2 separate regions of the Homo sapiens genome follow, and region 1 is linked to region 2. The links are contacts of gene promoters, found by promoter capture Hi-C in blood cells and fetal thymus (Javierre and others, 2016). All regions are on one chromosome and are shown on one strand. The core of a region is centred on a gene start or on the middle of the fragment in contact, and the rest is flanking DNA. Distances in the headings are between cores, read along the strand shown. Region 1 has its middle 41 kb from the start of DOCK7-DT. Region 2 holds the start of ANGPTL3 (angiopoietin like 3).

Region 1 (4,012 bases), core at 282-2,781, 130 kb before region 2:
ATGGTGGTTCATGCCTGTAATCCCAGCATTTTGGGAGGTCAAGGCAGCTGGATAGCTTGAGCCCAGGAGTTTGAGACCAGCCTGGGTAACAAAGTGAGACCTCGTTGCTAAAAAAAATTTAAAAAAGTAGCTGGTCATGGTGGCAAGTACTTGTGGTCCCAGCTACTCAGAAGGCTGAGGTGGGAGGATCCCTTGAGCCTAGGAGGCAGAAGCTGCAGGAAGCCAAGATACCACTGCATTCCAACCTGGGTGACAGAACAAGATCCTGTCTCAAAAACAAATAAATAAGGCTGGGCGTGGTGGCTCACGCCTGTAATCCCAGCACTTTGGGAGGCTGAGGTGGGTGGATCACCTGAGGTCAGGAGTTCAAGACCAGCCTGGCCAAGACGATGAAACCTTGTCTCTATTAAAAATACGAAAAAATTAGCCAGGCATGGTTGCAGGTCCCTGTAATCACAGCTTCTCGGGAGGCTGAGGCATGAGAATTTCTTGAACCCGGGAGGCAGAGGTTGCAGTGAGCCGAGATCGCGCCATAGCACTCCAGCCTAGGAGACCAAGAGCAAAACTCCGTCTCAAAAATAAATAAAATAAAATAATGCAAACTCAGATATTATTTTGACAGTCAAAAACATTTGTCTCAAAACTTTCAACCTAGCATGTCAAGGTTCAAAACCTCTCTGAAACAATTGATTATTGTTCTGTATCCTTCACTAACCCCTTCCACACCACATCCATCCGGGCTGCGCTTTCAATGCCCCTCCTACGCGTTCTTAGCATATCATTCCTACCTACCACCTTTGCATTAAAATGATCTGCTTATCGGCTTCTCTGGCTAAACTGTAAGCTTCTGTATGGAAAGCCTCCACAAACCCCAGATGAGACTGAATTCCCCTATTACAATTGTCCACAATTCCCTATAGTTTGGCTTTATAATACTTACGCGTGTGATCATATTTGTAACAGGAATGGCAATTAATGCTCTCTAGTCTTACATACCCATTAAGGCTGAGGCTTTCTTTCACACACCATCAGTTTGCAATGTTTCAGGTGAGAAGACAATGGAGCAATATCTTCAGTATTCCAAGGAAAATGGTTTCAACCTAGAATTCTAAATGTAGCCAAGCTTTAATTCAAGTGTAGAAGAAAGACATTTACAGATGTCTGTGTTCTTAAAATTATACCCAACATGTACTCTTTCTTGGGAATTACTGGAGAATGGAAGCACAAAGCAAGAAGGCCAAACATAAAAGAAAGAGGATCCAGAAAATAGGGACTCCAACAGAAGCAGGAGAACTGACTCCTCAGGAGGAGCATGCAGGAGATCCTAGAGTGACACCTGCAAAACATTTCTAGAAAGCAATCTGTTCACGTTGGGGGCAGGGTTAACAGAGACCTCCAAGAAGGATGTTGTCACAAAATGAATGAAAATAAGAAACAACCAATGTATTTTAACATTATGAAAGGAAATTTATAATTCTCGAGGAATGTTTGAGGATGAATTAGTTATAGGTACATAGAAAAGTAAGCAAACAATATAGGCAATTATTAATTCCGGGAAAACCAAAACATATTGTATAAAAGAGGAAATGTAGTCATTGTACAATGTATGGTCATGTTGAATTAACCAAAAGTTGTGCAATGATGTAATTATATAGGGAGAAATGGAGGAGGAAAAGAATGTATGTGAATGTGTTTGTGATGGGGTGTGGTGTTGGGAGCATTATAAGAGAGCTTAATCTTCATCTTCCATAGCAGGAAGCCAAAATATATGAAACTGAACAATCTCCAAATAGCAGCAATACAAGAATGTTATTTAGGAAGACAGAGGCAAGTATGAGAAGAAACAACTAATAAAATCTTTTAAATGTTGCCTTTGAGTACTGGGGATTGGGGGTAGAAAAGGAGAAACAGTGTACTGCTTTTTTCATTATAAGCTTCATAGAATTATGTAACTTTAAAAACTCTGTACAAATATAAACTATTGTTTTAAATAAAAGAGGAAGAAACATTCAACATTTTTTTTCAAGCAATCTTTTGAAAATAAAAGGAATGCTGTGAGGAAACTGAGGGGTGTGAAAGAAAGCCTCAGCCTTAATGGGTATGTAAGACTAGAGAGCGTTAATTGCTATTCCTGTTACAAATATAATCACACGCATAAGTATTATAAAGCCAAACTATAGGGAATTGTGGACAATTATAATAGGGAAATTCAGTCTCATCTGGGGTTTGTGGAGGCTTTCCATACAGAAGCTTACAGTTTAGCTTTAGCCAAAGAGAAGCCGATAAGCAGATCATTTTAACACAAAGGTGGTAGGTAGGAATGATATGCTAAGAATGTGTAGGAGGGGCATTAAGCCCAGCTCGGATGGATGTGGTGTGGAAGGGTTTAGTGAAGGATGTAGAACAATAATCAATTGTTTCAGAAGGGTTTTGAACCTTGGCATGCATAGGTTGAAAGTTTAGAGGCAGGCTGGGCGCAGTGGCTTACACCTGTAATCCCAGCACTTTGGGAGCCCAAGGCGGGCAGATCACAAGGTTAGGAGATGGAGGCCATCCTGGCTAACACGGTGAAACCCCATTTCTACTAAAAATACAAAAAATTAGCTGGGCGTGATGGCATGCGCCTGTGATCCCAGCTACTGGGGAGGCTGAGGCAGGAGAATCGCTTGAACCTGGGAGGCAGAGGTTGCAGTGAGCCGAGATCGTGCCACTGCACTCCAGCCTAGGTGACAGAGCGAGACTCTGTCTCAAAAAAAAAAAAAGAAAGTTTAGAGGCAAATGTTTTTTGACAGCCGGAATAATACCTGGTTTTGTTTTATTTAATTTATTTATTTATAAATAAATATATGGAACACCATTATATAATATTTCTGTGATACAGACACGATAGATGTAAAGAACCTCAAGAAGATAGATAATAGTAGGATTCACTACAATAATTAGGAAGTGATAAGTTTTGAGTATTGTCTGTTTTTAATATAATTTATTTCATTATGTTATAATAAATATTCTGTTTATTTAATTTTTAATAATGGTTAACCACTGTCTCATAAAATTCCTGAATATAAGCCATCTATTCTTATGAGCCAGTATGAGCTGGCTCCAGCACTGTTGGAAATGTTATAATATCTTGAAATATTAATATTTGTGCTTTTTCTCCTCTGTACTTTTAAGGTAGGAGGCGGGACTTGATTCTAGGGGTGGGACTTGGATACTGGACTAGACTGAGGACTAGCCAAGACACTTTTTCACACTTTCTCCCTGGTGTTGCCAAGGAGAAAGCAGTTTTCAATCAGACCCACCCACCAGTGTGCCATGTCAATTTACCGTTGCCATGGCAACACCAGGGTTGTTATCACCCCTTTCCATGGTACCTAACCATTCAACAGTTACTACCCCTTTTCTGCATAAACTGCCCCTTAATCTGCATACAATTAAAAGTGGGTATAAATATGACTGCAAAACTACCCCGAGCTGCTACTCTAAGCCCTGTTCTGCGGGAGCAGTCACCGAGCTGTAACACTGACTGTTCAACAAAGCTGTTTTCTTCTTTCTCTGGATTACCCTTGAATTCTTTTCTGGGCAAGGCCAAGAACCCTCTCTGGCTAAGCTCCACTTTGGTGCTTGCCTGTCCTACATCACTTTCTTGCACTTGATCTTTTGCCTGTAACTCAGAGGTATCTATGCTGCCTTGAGAAGTATGACTGTTATAGTAGGAATGAAAATGGCAAGAAATAAAGGACCTTATTATGCATGGTAGATTAAAAATGTGCCTTCACCACTGGTTCTTCCTGAAATCCCAGTAATGTGACCTCAAAAAAGGTATAAGCCAAAAATGACCAACAGAAAGGGAGAGGAGACAACATAACAAAATTTGAAGAATGGAAGCAGGGGAATAAGTGAGAACAAATATTCCCATCTAGAGAAAATTCAGATCTAAACTTGAAGAGGAGGAGGGTAATAACAAGCTGATTCATGCTGTGAATCACCCCAAAAGCTCAGGAATGGGGGG
Region 2 (3,492 bases), core at 53-2,552:
AAAATACTGACTTACCTGATTTTCTATTTCTTTTATTTGACTATGCTGTTGGTTTAATTGTTTATATTGGTCTTCCACGGTCTGGAGAAGGTCTTTGATGCTATTATCTTGTTTTTCTACAAAAGTCTGGATATAGAGAGTAGGTTGGTTATAAGTTGCTTTCCTCTTTCTTTTCTATTAATTTCCTGTAACACTATCATAATCTAAATTTTTAAACTAATAATGGATTTGAAAAATGAATATTGGCAATTCCTTCCCCTTGTATGCTTCTTTCAAATAGCACATATTTTTGTCCTTAACATTTTATTTAAATTGTACTATCTCTAAAATTTGATTTTCTGAACTTCAATTAAAAGAAAAAGCCCAGCATATTTTCATATGAATAAATCTTTTCCATTTACTGTATTATTTAATCTGTTTTAAACACTGGAGAATAGTTTTAAATTTTTTTTAACTTTTTACTTACCTTCAGTAATTTACAATAGTGTAATGACATAGTGTTCTAGATTGTATAATTTAACCGATTTGTAATTTTCATATAAAATGCAAATTTTCAGTGTTTTCATATATAACATTAGGGAAACAAAAAACTAACTTGAAATTATAATAGGAAATTTTATTTTCTGGAGATTATTTTTCTTGGAAAAAAAAGTATTTCAACAATGCAACAAAGTATTTCAAATGGCATGCCTTAGAAATATTTTTTTTAAAAGATCCACATTGAAAACATAAACATGAACCCTCTTTATTTTCTACTTACTTTAAGTGAAGTTACTTCTGGGTGTTCTGGAGTTTCAGGTTGATTTTGAATTAAGTTAGTTAGTTGCTCTTCTAAATATTTCACTTTTTGTTGAAGTAGAATTTTTTCTTCTAGGAGGCTTTCAAGTTTTGAGTTGAGTTCAAGTGACATATTCTTTACCTCTTCATTTTTGACTTGTAGTTTATATGTAGTTCTTCTCAGTTCCTTTTCTTCTTCTTTGATTTCACTGGTTTGCAGCGATAGATCATAAAAAGACTGATCAAATATGTTGAGTTTTTGAAATATGTCATTAATTTGGCCCTTCGTCTTATGGACAAAGTCTTTAAGACCATGTCCCAACTGAAGGAGGCCATTGGCTAAAATTTTTACATCGTCTAACATAGCAAATCTTGATTTTGGCTCTGGAGATAGAGAATCAAATGATGAATTGTCTTGATCAATTCTGGAGGAAATAACTAGAGGAACAATAAAAAGAAGGAGCTTAATTGTGAACATTTTTATCTTGATTTTCAATTTCAAGCAACGTGGAACTGTTTTCTTCTGGAAGCAGACCTAGACTTCTTAACTCTATATATACCAATATTTGCCCAGAAAAGGTAAGGTTGGTAGGTGAACATAGTTAATCATTAAGCCGTGTTAACTTGCACGAATGTAACCTTCTTCCACATTGAGTTAGATCAATGCTAAATGAAATCAAAGAAATGAGCAACTAACTTAATAGGTAATTTGAAATTGTATTTAACTTTGCTGTATTATAAACTACACATTCAATGCTATGGTGACTACCTGTTTTTAAAAGCTAATTTTACTTTTTTATGATTTTAAGAGATTTACAAGTCAAAAATAAACTTTTTTGTTGGGTAAATTTATTATTAAAGTTGAGGGGAAAAAAGTAATGAATTAAGTATGCATTTCTCAAACTGTACTTTAGTTCTTTTGGAAACAGTGATCCATTCCAAAAAACACTTTCTCTCTGAAGCCTTTCTCCACTCCCTCAGGTGGTGTTACGGCTCTCAATGCTGTGTTCCTCTGGTACTCTGTATAAATCAATGTATAATTATATGCTCCTCATTTTTTGTCACTATAATTGTTAATATGTTTTTTTGCATCACCTTATATGTCTTAACCATCCTTGTATATTGTCACAAAATCCCATATATAGTAAGTGTCATTAAAGACATTTCACTCCCTTTTCTCCACTGTGTTCTGTGTCTCTGTGTTCTAGGCTCTTTACCATGTGCTCGTTGAAGGAACAATGGATATGTGGTCATCTAGGACCAAACTAGAATTGAATCTTAAATACCTTCAATGTCACAAGCAGCTTGCCCATCATAAGTTTTTCTGAAGTTTGTTAGCTTAGTAACAATTTTGATAATATACATTTAACAAAAAGAGGAGATTAATAACATTTTTTTTTTAAAGATGATGTCTTAATGTATTGCCCATGCTGGTCTGGAAATACTGGGCTCAAGCAATTCTTTTACCTTGGCCTCCCAAAATTTACAGGCATGAGCCCAGCCGATTACAAGCGTGAGCCCAGCCAATTAATAATATTTCTAAAAATAAATGTTCCACTATGCTTCCAACTTAGTGTTAAAAAAATACTAAATGCTTATATTAGTGATTATTCTTATTGAGTGTTCATATTAAGAAATTTGTGAGAAAATAGCATCCTTTAAAACTGCTTAATCTTGACATATTAATATGGTGAAATTGTTAAGAATATGGGTGCTGGAGTCAGACTGTGGTGTGGGTCCAAAAGCCGGCTCTAGCTGTCTGGCCTTGGACAAGTTACTTAACCTCCCCATGGATTAGTCTCCTCATCTGTAAAGCTGGGGTAATTATAGTACATAATTCATAGTGTTATGATAATTTAACAATAATACATGTAGAGCACTTAGAACAGTGCTGGGCAAACAGGTAGTGCTCAAAATGCTAGTTATTATGTCACATGAAACTAACTTTTAACCTGTGTATGTGTGTGGGTATATATAATCAACCTTACCTAAAAGAAATTTTTCATAAAGTTAATAGCTTTTTAACACAGGGAAAAGTTTTATCATAATAAATTTCAGTGTAAATTATAAATTGTTAATACAAAATAAACCATTTCCAAATTTCTTTTCTTTTTTAGAGACAGGGTCTTGCTCTGTTGTCCAGGCTGGAGTGCAGTGGCATGATCATAGCTCACTATAGCCACGAACTCCTGGGCTCGAGCAAGCCTCCTCCCTCTGTCTCCCAAGTAGCTGAGACTATAGATGCATGCCACCACACCCAGCTAATTTTTAAATATTTTGTAGAGACTGTGTTTCACTATGTTGCCCAAGCTGACCTTGAACTCCTGACTTCAAGTGAACCTCCCATATCAGCCTCTCAAAGTGCTGATATTAAAGGAGTAAGCCACTGTGCTCGTCCCTAAATTTCTATTCTTAGAAATGCCTCTTCATTGTGTAAAATAGAGGCTCTTCCTTTTGATGACTTAGGATTAAGGGTTTTGGGTATAATAGTTACAGTAGAGGCAGTATTCCATAGTGGTTAAGAGCATGATTCTGGAATAAGACTGCCTGAATCAGAATCCCGGATTTCATATTCTTCAGCTTTGTGACCTTTGGTCAAATTACTTCACATCTCTGAACCCCTGTTTTCTCATCTCTCCAGTGAGAATAACACCTATTTTATAGGGTCGTATAAAAGATTAAAAGTTTATATTTTCAGAGCACTTAGAACATTAT

The links. The method cuts DNA at HindIII sites, captures the fragments that hold promoters and counts their contacts. A CHiCAGO score of 5 or more calls a contact.
Region 1: a contact is called between a fragment that was not itself captured here and the fragment with the promoter of ANGPTL3 in region 2, in 2 of 17 cell types (erythroblasts and M2 macrophages). The highest score is 6.6, in erythroblasts.

The regions. Positions count from the first base shown.
Region 1 is chr1:62,727,531-62,731,542 of GRCh38, reverse strand. No RefSeq gene overlaps it. Among named protein-coding and RNA genes, the nearest start is that of DOCK7-DT, 41 kb to the right of the region's middle. The HindIII fragment of the contact is 811 bases long and covers 1,126-1,936 here.
Region 2 is chr1:62,595,330-62,598,821 of GRCh38, reverse strand. It overlaps ANGPTL3 (angiopoietin like 3), which reads right to left and starts at 1,302. Exons shown (of 7, transcript NM_014495.4): 1 at 761-1,302; 2 at 16-126. The coding sequence starts at 1,255. The region is part of intron 14 of DOCK7 (dedicator of cytokinesis 7); the gene reads left to right. The HindIII fragment of the contact is 12,927 bases long and covers 1-3,492 here.